2 separate regions of the Homo sapiens genome follow, and region 1 is linked to region 2. The links are contacts of gene promoters, found by promoter capture Hi-C in human tissues and cell types (Jung and others, 2019). All regions are on one chromosome and are shown on one strand. The core of a region is centred on a gene start or on the middle of the fragment in contact, and the rest is flanking DNA. Distances in the headings are between cores, read along the strand shown.

What was found. Contacts are between HindIII fragments. The study calls those that stand out against the background at their distance.
Region 1: a fragment that was not itself captured here is called in contact with the fragment with the promoter of KCTD4 in region 2 in 3 of the 25 tissues and cell types used here (IMR-90 fibroblasts, adrenal gland and lymphoblastoid cells).

The regions. Positions count from the first base shown.
Region 1 is chr13:45,136,632-45,143,002 of GRCh38, forward strand. GTF2F2 (general transcription factor IIF subunit 2) reads left to right here. Exons shown (of 8, transcript NM_004128.3): 2 at 102-175. It also overlaps the pseudogene RNU6-69P. Among named protein-coding and RNA genes, the nearest start is that of GTF2F2, 19 kb to the left of the region's middle. The HindIII fragment of the contact is 7,918 bases long and covers 186-6,371 here.
Region 2 is chr13:45,199,484-45,205,999 of GRCh38, forward strand. KCTD4 (potassium channel tetramerization domain containing 4) reads right to left here and starts at 1,562. Exons shown (of 2, transcript NM_198404.3): 1 at 1,341-1,562. The region is part of intron 4 of GTF2F2 (general transcription factor IIF subunit 2); the gene reads left to right. The HindIII fragment of the contact is 9,631 bases long and covers 1-5,583 here.

The DNA.
Region 1 (6,371 bases), core at 2,895-5,394, 60 kb before region 2:
TTATTAGAGGCAGAAAATAAAAATAGAAGCAATATATCATTTTATGTTTGAAAAGATGTTAGCATCTAAAATAGACTTATTAGTGTTTTACTTTGTTTTAGGTTCCTAAATATTTGTCACAGCAATGGGCTAAAGCCTCTGGAAGAGGTGAAGTTGGGAAACTGCGGATTGCCAAGTAAGTTATTTACATATTCTTGACATTTTAAAAAGCTATTTTTGAAATTTTTATAAGTGCTTTTAAAAGTGATTATAATTTCTGATCAGAGTTTACTTGGAAAATGACAAGTAATGAGCATGTCAAGGCTTGTCAGGAGATGGTTAGGTGCCCTGTAAGGAGACATCCTTGCACATACACACATATCCCCACACCCACACTCCTAGTGACTGGTGGTATAAATATAATATCAAGTTTATTGGTTTACCTTAATGGCGGTGAAGCAGCAGATTATGTAGTTCTTTCACCCCTCCATCCTGTCTGCCTCCTTGAGCAGGTTTGCTTAGGCTGGGTATAACTGGATGCACCAAGGAAAGTACTTGCAGCAGGACTTTGCCACTGTACCACTGGGCCTACTTATAGGGGCTTTGGAAGTGGGTGGGGAGTATCTAGAAAACAGTGTAACAATATAGTTTTCTGGTTGAGGAAATGGCCTTGTTAGAAAGGAAAGCCTCTAAAGCTCAGCTAGTGTCAGCTGGAGGCCTTGTGTTCCATTCTTTCTATCCATTCATTCTTAACCAACTCCATTCAGATTCGTATGTCCATGATTCCATTGAAACAGCTCTTGTCTGTTACTGGTATCTTCCTCTTTATCAATTAGCTTTTGCTTCATAACAAACCATCCCAAAACTTAGTGGCTTAGAACAAAAGCCATTTTATTTGCTGATAATTCTATGGATCAATTCTGGTTGGGGCTGGCCTGGGCGGCCTTCCTGGCAAGGATGTCCTCACTTGTATGTGGTGGTTGAGTTGACATTAGCAGGGGCAACAGCTATTTATTTCATCTCTAGCAAGCTCATTCACATGATGGTGAAAGAGTTCTAGTAGGAAAAGAGGAAGCCCCAGTGCACAAGCACTTTGAAAGCCTGTGCTTGTGTCACATTTGCTAAAGTCCTTTTGACCAAAGCAGCTCACATGGCCAAGCCCAGATTCAGTTATGGGAAAACAGACTCCACCTTTTGATGGAAGCTGCTGCAAAAAAAACTTGTGTTCCTTATTTATTTATTTATTTATTTCAAAATATGGAATACTTCCTAATTCGCATGTCATCCTTGTGCAGGGGCCATGCTCATCTTCTCTGTATTGTTCCAATTTTAGTATATGCTGCTGAGGCGAGCACATGTTCCTTTTCATAATCGGCCACGTCCACATTCCTAAATCCAAGAGTCAACTAGCAGCTCTCTTACTTGAACTTCGGTGGAATTTGACATAGTTGATCACTTTTTTCCTGAGACTTTTTTTTCCCCACTTTACTCTAGGACACATCTCTTCTCCTCTCGCCTCATTGGCTGTTCCTTCTTAGTTTCTTGCTAAGCCCCTTCTCATCTTCTGTCTCTAAATGTTATGTGACCCCAGGACTCAGTCCTTAGTTCTTTCCTTTTCTCTCTTTTCACTTCCTGGGTGTTCTCATTTGGTCTCATGGCTTTAAGTACCAGGTGGTATTTAAATATACAGTTCAGGATGCTTCTGCCCTCCGTGGAGGCACCGTGCTCAGGAAGGTCCTTATTTTCTTTGTGTTCCATGCCCTGGCTGTGACTTTCTCCACACTACTCCCAGAATCAACCACTGACCTACTAGAATTGACCGCTGATCTAGAGTTAACCACAGACCAAGATTTAACCATTAACCTAGACTTGACCACGGACCTAGAGCCAACCACAGAACACGCAGGCTCTGGAATTCTTTACTGATGTGGAGTCAGCCAACTCTAGCTTTGTGGAAGAAGCTGCTGAGGCCACAGCTGATTATAATCCATTTCAGAGAACTTGTGAGTGACGATTATGATGTGAGTGAAGATCAGTATTATTATTATTTTTCGAGACAATGTCTCACTCTGTTGCCCTTGCTGGAGTGCTGTGGCGTGATCTCAGCTCACTGTATCCTCTGCCTCCCGGGTTCAAGCGATTCTCCTGCCTTAGCTTCCTGAGTAGCTGGGCTTATAGATGTGCGCCAGCATACCTGACTAATTTTTGTATTTTTAGTAGAGACGGGGTTTCGCCATGTTGGCCAAGCTGGTCTTGAACTCCTGACCTCAAGTGAGCCACCTGCTTTGGCCTCCTAAAGTGCTGGGATTACAGGCGGTAGCCACTGTGCCCGGCCGCGAGTGAAGATTATTATGAATGCTGTTTATTCCAAAGAGCCCATCATTAGAGTGACAGACAAGCTTAGCAGATTCACAGGAAGCAATGAGTCCATCTCAGCGCATGTTAAAGCAAATTTTTAGTTAGCTGTGACTATGACTGTTATCCACTACTTTCTAAGAAGATTCTGAGCTTTAAGACAAGCCTGTTACTCCACTATAGGAGATTGCATAATGGTAGAAAACTAGTGAAATGTAGGATGTACCCAGCTGAGGAGAAACAGCAAGACATTGATCCTGGGTTGGGTGATGTGAATTGTGCATGGATGGGGCAGGGGCATTTCTTAGCTGTGTCTCATTTAATATGGGCTCAATAAATGTTCATTTCAACTGAAAATAAGTAAAAATCAAAAAATGTATTTACACACCTCTCTCTCTGTCCACGCTCGTAATTCTGACTGTGTTGTTGATGTTTGGACTGTGTCCTCGGATGTCCTCGGATGTTTCAGAAGCATCTCAAACTTAATAATTGCTATTCTTCTGTTTTTTCTCTCTGTAACACTCTTCCTTTAGATAATCCCCATGCCTTACTCCCACATTTCTTTTCGGTCTCTGTTCACAATTTCAGCTCATTGAGGTATTTTCTGGCCACCATATGTAAAATAGCACCCTGCAGGCTCTATCTCCCTTACCCTCTTATTATTCACTGTTCTTTTGTGTTGTTATTTATTCTCCTTCTACTATACCCATCTGACATACTGTATATTTGTTTATGTGTTGTTCATATCGCCTACTAAAGTATAAACTCTACCAGGTCAGGATTTTTGTCTTGATGATTACTATATCTCCATTGTCTAGAACAATGCTTGGCATAGTAGACACTGTGTTCTAAAGTTAGGTGGGGACAAGTACAGTTGTCCCTCAGTACCTGCAGGAGATTGGTGTCTGGCATGCCCCATCTCCCATACCAAAATCTACCATGCTCAAGTCCTTTATATAAAATGGCACAGTATTTACGTATAACCTACACACATCCTTCTGTATACTTTAAAGCATCTCTAGATTACTTATAACTAATACAGTGTAAAAACTATGTAAATAGTTGTTACTATTTGTTTTTCTCTTTTTTTTGAAACAGGGTCTCACTCTGTTCCCAGGACTACAGGCAAGCACTGCCATGCCCAGCTAATTTTTTTTTTTTTTTTCTCGTAGAGGCAGAGTCTCCCTGTGTTGCCTTGGTTGGTCTCAAACTCCTGGGCTTAAGGGATCCTCCCTCCTCAGCCCCTAAAGTGTGGGTGTTACAGGCATGAACCACCATGCCCAGCCGATGTTTAAAATATTTTCAGTCTGCAGTTGGTTGACTCCACGAATATTGACCACTCAGATATAGGGGGCCAACTGTAATATCTCGTTTTCTCAAGGAATGATTGAGTATATGTTCATAGTGGAGTCAGGCTTGTATTCTGGCCTTTTATTGGTCAGAAAACTCCAGCATGTCCTAGTTCTAACTCAATCATTTACTATGAGTGAGACTTTGTACAAGTCACTGAATCTTCTGACTTTAGATTTCTTATCCTAAAAGTTGCCTTTTTGCAGGGCTTTTATATGAATCCATTAAGATAATATGGAAATAGTTATTTATTTGTATATTTAAGTTTATAAGATGAACATATTCCTGGAAAGTTGTAGATGTGTCACATTTTTATGAGTTGTCATACTTTTATTGAAAGAGAAAAATAATATTGAAATGTACAGGTTTTTTTTCCCTCAATGTGAAGTTCTTTGTAATGTACATAATTAGCTACTGTTCTGTAATGAACTTCAGAGTTTTTTATATTAGGTTTTACTGAAATGGGAGCCACAACCAAGATAAAATCTCAGGAATGTATGTCACTGAAGAAAGGCAGGCTAAAGGAGAGAGTACTTAGATGATGAACCTCATGGTATTGTGGAGTGCCTTCACAATACAGCTCAAGACCTGGCTTCTAGTCCTGAATGGCTGTTGATAGTTGTTTGGCTTTGGGCCTTACACTTCTTGTTTGTAAAATGTGGATAATAATGCCTTCCCAACCCATAGGATGTTTATAAAACATTAAATAGCTTAGCATTTGTTAAAATATTTGTAAACTCAAATGTTCTCCTTCCATGTAATATTCATGTCCCATGAATAATACATTCCTGAAAACCTCTATGTAAAGAAAATACCTGGTTCAGAAATATAGTATCTCTTTTTGGGAGGAGGGGGAAAATATTACAGGAAAAAGAGTGAAAGGAAACAAGGCTGAGAGAAACCCATGTAAATCTCAAGTACCACTTTGATCACTAAAGTAAAATATTAAAGATAGCATGCTAAATAAGCAATAATGGGCATGCTGCAATTTTTCCTTATGAATCCTTGCTTGGTAGAAAATCTCAAGGTCTTTTTCTTTCTTAGTTTAAAGCAGATGGTCCACATAGTTGCTAATCCACATAGGGTGGCTAAACCTCCAGGTTTGCCTGGAACCCTCCCAGTTTATGTGTTTCCCTATGCAATTATTAATAGTGCCCCCTTTTCCACTCTCCAGGGTGTCCTGGTTTTGATAATATAGTTGTCCTAAGTGTTAGCAGATGTGTGTGTAGGGGTAGGGGTGAAGACGGTGGGTAGTTATTCTATGCATTACTAGGCTGATTTATGAGCTGGCATTGTTTGATTTCTCTAGGGATCCAACCAAAGTTCCTTACAAATACTGTGTGTGTGTGTTTTAGTGTATAAGTAATACCTACTTTCTTGTTTTTTTTCCTTTAAAATTTTTACAAAATGAAAAGGTCTCTGTTTTCCCCATTCACATGCTTTAGAGGTGGCCATGGGTAACTGCTTGGTATGTAAGCCTCCAGATTACTCTCCATACAAATCATTTTGGGTGTTTAATACGGACAAAGTTTTAAAACATTGTTATGTTTTAAATCCACTAACCAGAGCAAGGTATTTTTCTAACCCCTTTAGGCTTAGTTTTGCTAACTTCAGAACATAGCACAGAAGTCTGATTTTGCTTTCCTTGTTGTTCTCTCTTGTATGTAGTTCTGAGGCTTTGGTTTACTTTGTTGCATCTTGATCTCTTCCCTAGAGTACATGGCCAGTACTTACATTCCTTGTTTTTCTCACTTTAGTCTTGAATTCTTTTGAAAGTAAAACCTCAGTAGAAGTGAGTTGAAATTATTTTATTCAAATCAGTTTCCTCAACCACAGTTGAAGAAAAAGTAAGCCCACCATTTTGTTTTTGAGATGGAGTCTGGCTCTGTTGCCCAGGCTGGAGCGCAGTGGCGTGATCTCGGCTCACTGCAACCTCCGCCTCCTGAGTTCAAGCAATTCTCGTGCCTCAGCCTCCTGAGTAGCTGGGATTATAGGCGCCTGCCACCATGCCCAGCTAATTTTTTTTATTTTTAGTAGAGACAGGGTTTCACCATGTTGGCCAGGCTGGTCTTGAACTCCTGACCTCAAGTGATCTGCCTGCCTTGGCCTCCCAAAGTGCTAGGATTACAGGCGTGAGCCACCACGTCTGGCCCTCAGAATTTCTTAAAAGGGAATCTAGTGGTTTTTACCTATGCCAATATCAGAGACAAATAAGGAGCAAATTGTGTGTGTTTGCATGTTTTATATGTAGGCAACAGGTCTAGCAGATTTTCTACCTAACGTAACACATAATCAGTCTTGTAGAAGATCTAGATACTTTTAGTGATGAGAACAGACTTATAGTAATTAGTACCCTAAGACTGCTATGAAAATGCTTGAAAACAGCTTGTTGCCTAGTTGGTCTCCTGGCTGTATTCTCCAGGCTGTCTTGTTTACTTTACTAATTTACTTAGTTTTCATTGCTGTTACTGAATTAACTAAATTCACTGTTAAACAAGTGTAGGATGGGTGGGGAATGTCTTACAGTGCATGTGACTAGGTTATCAGGATTTTAGTTGATTTTGAGCTTAATATGAGTCATCAAATTTATGAGCCGATAAACAAAAGGCTCCATTGATAGATGTCTGTTGTTTAGAATGAAGTGGAATGATAATCCTCCTCCTTACTTTGCCAGTCAGCTCACAGTG
Region 2 (6,516 bases), core at 312-2,811:
AGCAGAAGTCATACCTTAAGTTTTTTAAAAATGAAGTTTTTTTTTGAAATATAACCTGTGCGTTATTATTTACTGGAAAATTCTATTGTAACCAGATGAGCATAGCACTTATGTAAGCCATCAAATGAACATTAAAATTATAATATTGTACAGAACTCATTTTTATAGTGCTATTTGGCAAAATGCAATTTTACTTTCTCTTTGGGAAGAAGATATTTTAAGCTAATAACCATTATCTACAATCTCAAAATGAAGGGCATAACTTTGAAAACTCTTGTAAAGGTAGTACAGTTAGGAAGTAAATGACTAAAGAGGGTCTCTGTTACCGTATACTAGCGCCTGCCACTGTTCCTTCTGATTTTCTCATCACTTAACATCTGCTTGTGTCTTCAGTGATGAGGTGGTGTGGAGAAGAGAGAAGAGGATCTGAACAGGAGAACAGGATGTGATGGCTCAAGGGAGCAAATGTGGTTTCTTACAGAGTAGGGAGGAGTTATAAACTAGGGATGGAGAACTCTATCATATCACACATTTTTTTCATATTTACCATTTCTATAACTGAGGTACATCTTAATATCGTTAGCTTGTCAAAGTTTAGCAGCAGTATTTTGTCTTGGTGGCACGTAAAATAATGGTTGCTATTACAAATGATAGCATCTTATAGTTGATGAAATATTTGAGCAGCTCTGTGAGCTATTCCCTCCGTATCACAAGAAAGTAAAATTAACAGACAGGGAGGAGGGAAAGAATTTTGCAGGGAGATGAGAGAGAGAGGGAGAGACAAAACAATGTGGCTGCTTGATGTTAAAATTAGGCAAATTATTTTATAACTTTTATAAAATTAAATTTTATTTTTTGATACAGGGTCTTGCTCTGTCACCCAGGCTGGAGTGTATTGCAACCTCAACCTCCTGGGCTCAGGTGATCTTCCTGCCTTAGGAAACTCCCGTATAGTTGGGGCCACAGGCATACCCCACCATACCTGGCTAACTTTTTTATCTTTTTGTGGAGACTGGGTCTCACTTTGTTGCCCAGGCTGGGCTCAAGCTATGCTGCTGCCTCAGCCTCCCAAAGTGTTGGGATTACAGATGTGAGCCACCATGCGTGGCAAAATTCCTGAAGATCAAATAGAGATCAGAATATTACTTCACAAGTAAAGAGCAGCTTTTTAATAATACAGGGATAGAAAGTTTGCCTAACTGGTTTGTTAAGATGCTAGTACCTTTTATTAGTAGACCTCAACTCAGAACCACAGGCAAAAAAACTTCTAGGAACATATTTTAAATGAGAAGAAAGGAGACTACTAGGAATATTAAAAATGGTTTGCCTTTTAAATGTACCTGCTTCTTGAAAAGATTATTTCTTCAGTCTTTTCCCAGAGAGTGTCGACACAGGTGTGATGTAATTAAGAGTCAGGAGAGTAAGGAGAGTAACTTCGAGGTCTGGAGGATCAGCCTGAAATGTTGGTCAGTAGTCCTCTGGTCTGGGTTTTTACAGGAGCTGGAAGTTCTCTTAAAGGCCTCCACATTCAGCTGGATCCAGAAGGTCTTGTGGAAATGAATGAGTGTAACTTCCTGATGCCTAAGACTTCCTAACATACTTGATTTCATTACTTACATGCCAATGCTAATAAGCAGTGTTGCTGCTTGCTTATTCCTTTAACTTCTTCAAACTAGGGATGCCCTTAACTTTTTAAAAAAAGTGCCAGTATCATTTCTCCTCAGTTCTTTGACATAGAGTGTATGTCAAGTTCAGATATAGGGCAGGATAATCCAGCATAGAGCACAAATTTAAATATTTTCAAGCCTTGGGCAGCTTCTTAACATTTTGTTATTCTCTTTCTATTCAAAGAAAATTTAATTATATCTAGGTCTTTTGGAAAGTACTAGAGCAAACAAAATAACACTAATGAAATAATAAAACATCCCCAGTTGGAGAGGAAGGCTAGCATTTTTATTTAGTGAAAGAGACCTAGAAGAGATCTCAGACATTCTAGTAATATCATTATTATGGATGCTGAGGCCCAGAGATGTAAAATAACTTCTCCAAAGTAACACTGCTGTTTAGTGACAGAATCTTAACTAGAAGCCTTCAGTTCTTTTTATAGGATGTGCTTTATATACATAACCTTTAAAATTTTCTCTCGAGTTTTTTCTGATTTTAGGTGGTGGGATATACATAAATTACCATCATCAAAGATGTGTGTTCATACTCAATAAGATTCTTTTGGTTGCAAGTAGCAGAAACCAGTCAACAAACCAATCTAGCCAAAAAAGGAGTGCGGGGGAGAATTTAGAAAGAATCCCATACTATTTCCCAGAATCCAAAGAAGAGCAAATGGCCAAGGAAAAGATATGAATTGAGCCATTCCAAAGCCTTTGGTAGGATGAGTTTGTGTGGCTTCTCTGCAGAGTGCTGGCAAGACCATGTCCTTCTAGTAATTGGTGGTGTGAGCCCCTTAGTTGAACATTTCAAGCACAAGAGCGAGCAAGCACAGACACACAGAGGCCATTCCTACCACCTTCAGTACTCTTCCTTCTTACCCCCACCCACCCCAGTCTAAATCCTACCCATTTTTCAAGGTCCAGCACAATCATTGCTTATTCTTCAAAACTCTTCTTGGCCTGGCGTGGTGGCTCACACCTGTAATCCTAGCACTTTGGGAGGCTGAGGTGGGCGGATCACCAGAGGTCAGGAGTTCAAGACCAGCCTGGCCAACATGGCAAAACCCCATCTCCACTAAAAATACAAAAATTAGCCTGGCGCAGTGGCACATACCTGTAATCCCAGCTACCCAGGAGGCAGAGGCAGGAGAATCGCTTGAACCCAGGAGGCGGAGGTTGCGGTGAGCCAAGATCGCGCCACTGCACTCCAGTCTAGGCAACAGAGCGAGACTCCATCTCAAAACAAAACAAAACAAAAAACTCTTCTTGATCTCTAGCTAGACATCTGAGTGGGTGTGTGTGTGTGTGCAAGTACATGTGTGTTTAATCCCAGTACTCTTGTATGTTTCTATTTTATGACCTTTAACATATTCAACTTGACAGAAGAATCCTACAGCACATATGGAATAACCAGTAATTGGTCAGTTACATTAAAAGATGGGAAATCATAAAAATGATATCAATATGCAGTTCCTATCTGCCTTAAACATTTTATCTTAAAACTTATAAATGTACGTTTAGTTGGCTGGGCACGGTGGCTCACGCCTGTAATCCCAGCACTTTGGGAGGCCGAGGTGGGCAGATCACGTGAGGTCAGGGGTTCAAGACCTGCCTGGTTACCATGGTGAAACCCTGGCTGTACTAAAAATACAAAAATTAGCTGGGCATGGTGGCGCACGCCTGTAATCCCAGCACCTCAGGTGGCTGAGGCATGAGAATTGCTTGAACCTGGGAGGCGGAGGTTTCAGTGAGTTGAGATTGCACCACTGTACTCCAGCTACTCCAGCCTGGGTGACAGAGTGAGACATCATCTCAGAAATAAAATAAAATAAAATAAATGTACATTTAGTTGCTGATGTATATGTAAGACAAGGCCTTTGCTTTGAATATAGGATACTGACTGACCATCTGTTTTCTTTGTTTTTCAAAAATTAAACCCATCATTTAGTTTTTCAGTCTCATTCTGTCGCCCAGGCTGGAGTGCAGTGATGTGATCTCAGCTCATTGCAACCTCTACCTACAGAGTTCAAACAATTCTCATGCCTTAGCCTCCCAAATAGCTAGGACTACAGGCATGCACCACCACGCCCACCTTTTTTTTTTTTTTTTGGATTTTTAGTAGAGAGACGGTTTCCTTGTGTTGCCTGGGCTAGTCTCAAACTCCTGGCCTCAAGTGATCTGCCCTCCTCGGCTTCCCAAAGTTCTGGGATTACAGGCGTGAGCCACTGCACCTGGCCCCATGATTTAGTTTAGATTTTCGATTTTGGTTTCTTTGAAAAGGAGCAAGAACTTAGACACTGTGAAACTATCTAAATGCAGACTCTTTCTAGACTCCTGTGCTTCCCTTTCAGTCTCCAGTTGTCTCACCTGTACCTAATTTGACAGTATTGTGTTACAACTTAACTTTATATCATCTTACCAAAGCATTCTACATAGTTTTTATAGAAACACCCCCCAAACTCCCCTCATACTTGCAATTTAATGGGCTTCTGTAATATATAATCAGATTACATAATTATTAAAACTAATATAGACAAGTTCTAGCATCGTTTGAGCAGACGTGTGTGGGAGTACTAGAGATTAACCTATTACCCACTAGTATATAGTGACTGTGGGCATCTGTCGCTATATTTAATAGCAGGCAGTTGAGAGCCTTTGTTAATCTAGAGGTGAGTTAAGTAGAGGTGTATCAAAAGTGCTTCTGGTGTATTAAGATGATTTATGTACCTGTCTTATCCTACGAGACCAGCAGCTCTCGAAATGTGGTCTGGGAACCACTGGGCAGAGGGGTCCCCGAGATCCTTTCAAGGGATCAATGATGTCAAGACCATTTCTATAATAATGCTAATGGCTTTTTTTTATTTTTTCACTCTCATTCTCTAGAAATTTCTTAATTTTAGTTTCTAATATGGTAGATATCAGCAGTTAAAACTTATAAACAGGTTTTTTGGGAGTCTATACATTTTTCCTTTTAAAAACATTTAAATTTAGGTTTTTTAAGCTTATTTTTAATTGACAAGTAAAATTTGTGTATATTTATGGTATATAACGTGATGTTTTGATATATGTATATGTGTGGAATGGCTAAATCAAGCTATTCATATCTATACTTTTTAACTAATACATGCCACAGAACGTTTAAGAAAGTCTACGCTCCTTGAGGGTAGGAGCCGTGTTTCATTTGTTATTCCTGATGTGCTCTTGCATTGTCTTTTACATAGTAGGCACTCAGTAAATAGTTAAGAAATGTGTGAGAATAAAATGAATTATTTTTCAAGTATTTATGGTCTTTTAAACTGGGTCAACAAACTAGCTTTAAGTAAAGGTTTCTATATTAATGAATAGGATCTATAATTAACAGCAGTAATGTGCAAGTGGGTGCTTTTAAATACTTTTAAAATAAAATTTAATACCTTTCCTTTGAAATCTTAAGCAGTATTTTGAAAAAGACAAGAAGTGTGGTTTAGTGGAAAGAATATGAGAATGTGTTCCTATGAGGCTTTAAAAAGAGAGCAGGCAAATCATGCCTAGGGGGCTGCATCAGGAGTAAATTGGCCTTTTAAAAATGTATTTAAGAAGAGAAGGGGAGAAAGGAAGTGAACAGAGATGTCAGGTTACTTAGGAACATCCAGTGGATGGGAAAATTCGTTGCTGATGAAGACTTTTCCATTCACTTTGAGTAGCATTTGGAAGCTATTTTAGGTTTGAAAAGAAGATATGATAGAAAATTATGGTTTGAGAAAGTAAATGTTATTGCTCTGTGTGAGTGACCTTGACTGAAGAATAGTGAGGAGATTGGTGGCCAAGTTGTAATGGGCAGTTGCTGTGGACCTGATTTCTACCCTTGAGCTGTCATATGGAGAAGGTTGATAGCACAAACCTTTAACTGAAAGTTAAATTCAGCCTGTCCACCTGGAGTAGGTACTGCTAAATAAGTGGGGAGCATTCACTTAGTAAAAGGTAGCTATATTAGTCCATTTTCACACTGCTATAAAGAAATGCCTGAGACTGGGTAGTTTATAAAGGAAACAGGTTTAATTGACTCACGGTTCCGCATACCTGAGGAGACCTCAGGAAACTTACATTCATGGTGGAAAGCAAAGGGGAAGCAGGCACCAAGGTGGCAGGAGGGAGAAGTGAGAGCACAGGAAAAAGCTGCCAGTGAGAACTCACTCATTATCACGAGAACAGCATAGGGGGAACTGCCCCATGATCCAGTCACTTCCCTCCCTTGACACGTGGGGATTATAATTTGAGATGAGATTTGGCTGGGGACACAGAGCCAGACCATATCAGTAGCTCTTTTAGTTGCAACATTAATAAACGTGGATATGTGACTAAATTATTTGCAGGGATAGTAGTCTAGATTTATTTTATTTATTTAGTTTTTTGAGACGGAGTCTTGCTCTGTTGCCAGGCTGGAGTGCAGTGGCACTATCTTGGCTCACTGCAACCTTTGCCTCCTGGGTTCAAGCGATTCCCTTGCCTCAGCCTCCTGAGTAGCTGGGACCACAGGTGTGTGCCACCATGCCTGGCTAATTTTTTATATTTTAGTAGAGACAGGGTTTCACCATGTTGGCCAGCATGGTCTCGATCTCCTGACCTCATGATCTGCCTGCCTCGGCCTCCCAAAGTGCTGGGATTATAGCTGTGAGCCACCGTGGCCGACCTAGATTTATTTTTTTAAAGGATTAATTGTCTTCCTTTATTGGACTTTCCTTATGCATTTAAGACATTTGATATATCAGATTTTCCCAAATCTTGCTATTGTTGTGACGACTAAAGAATTTTTCTTGATAGAACTTTCAGCTTCAGCAAGAGCCAAACTTGAATATAAGCTTTTTGCTTTAAG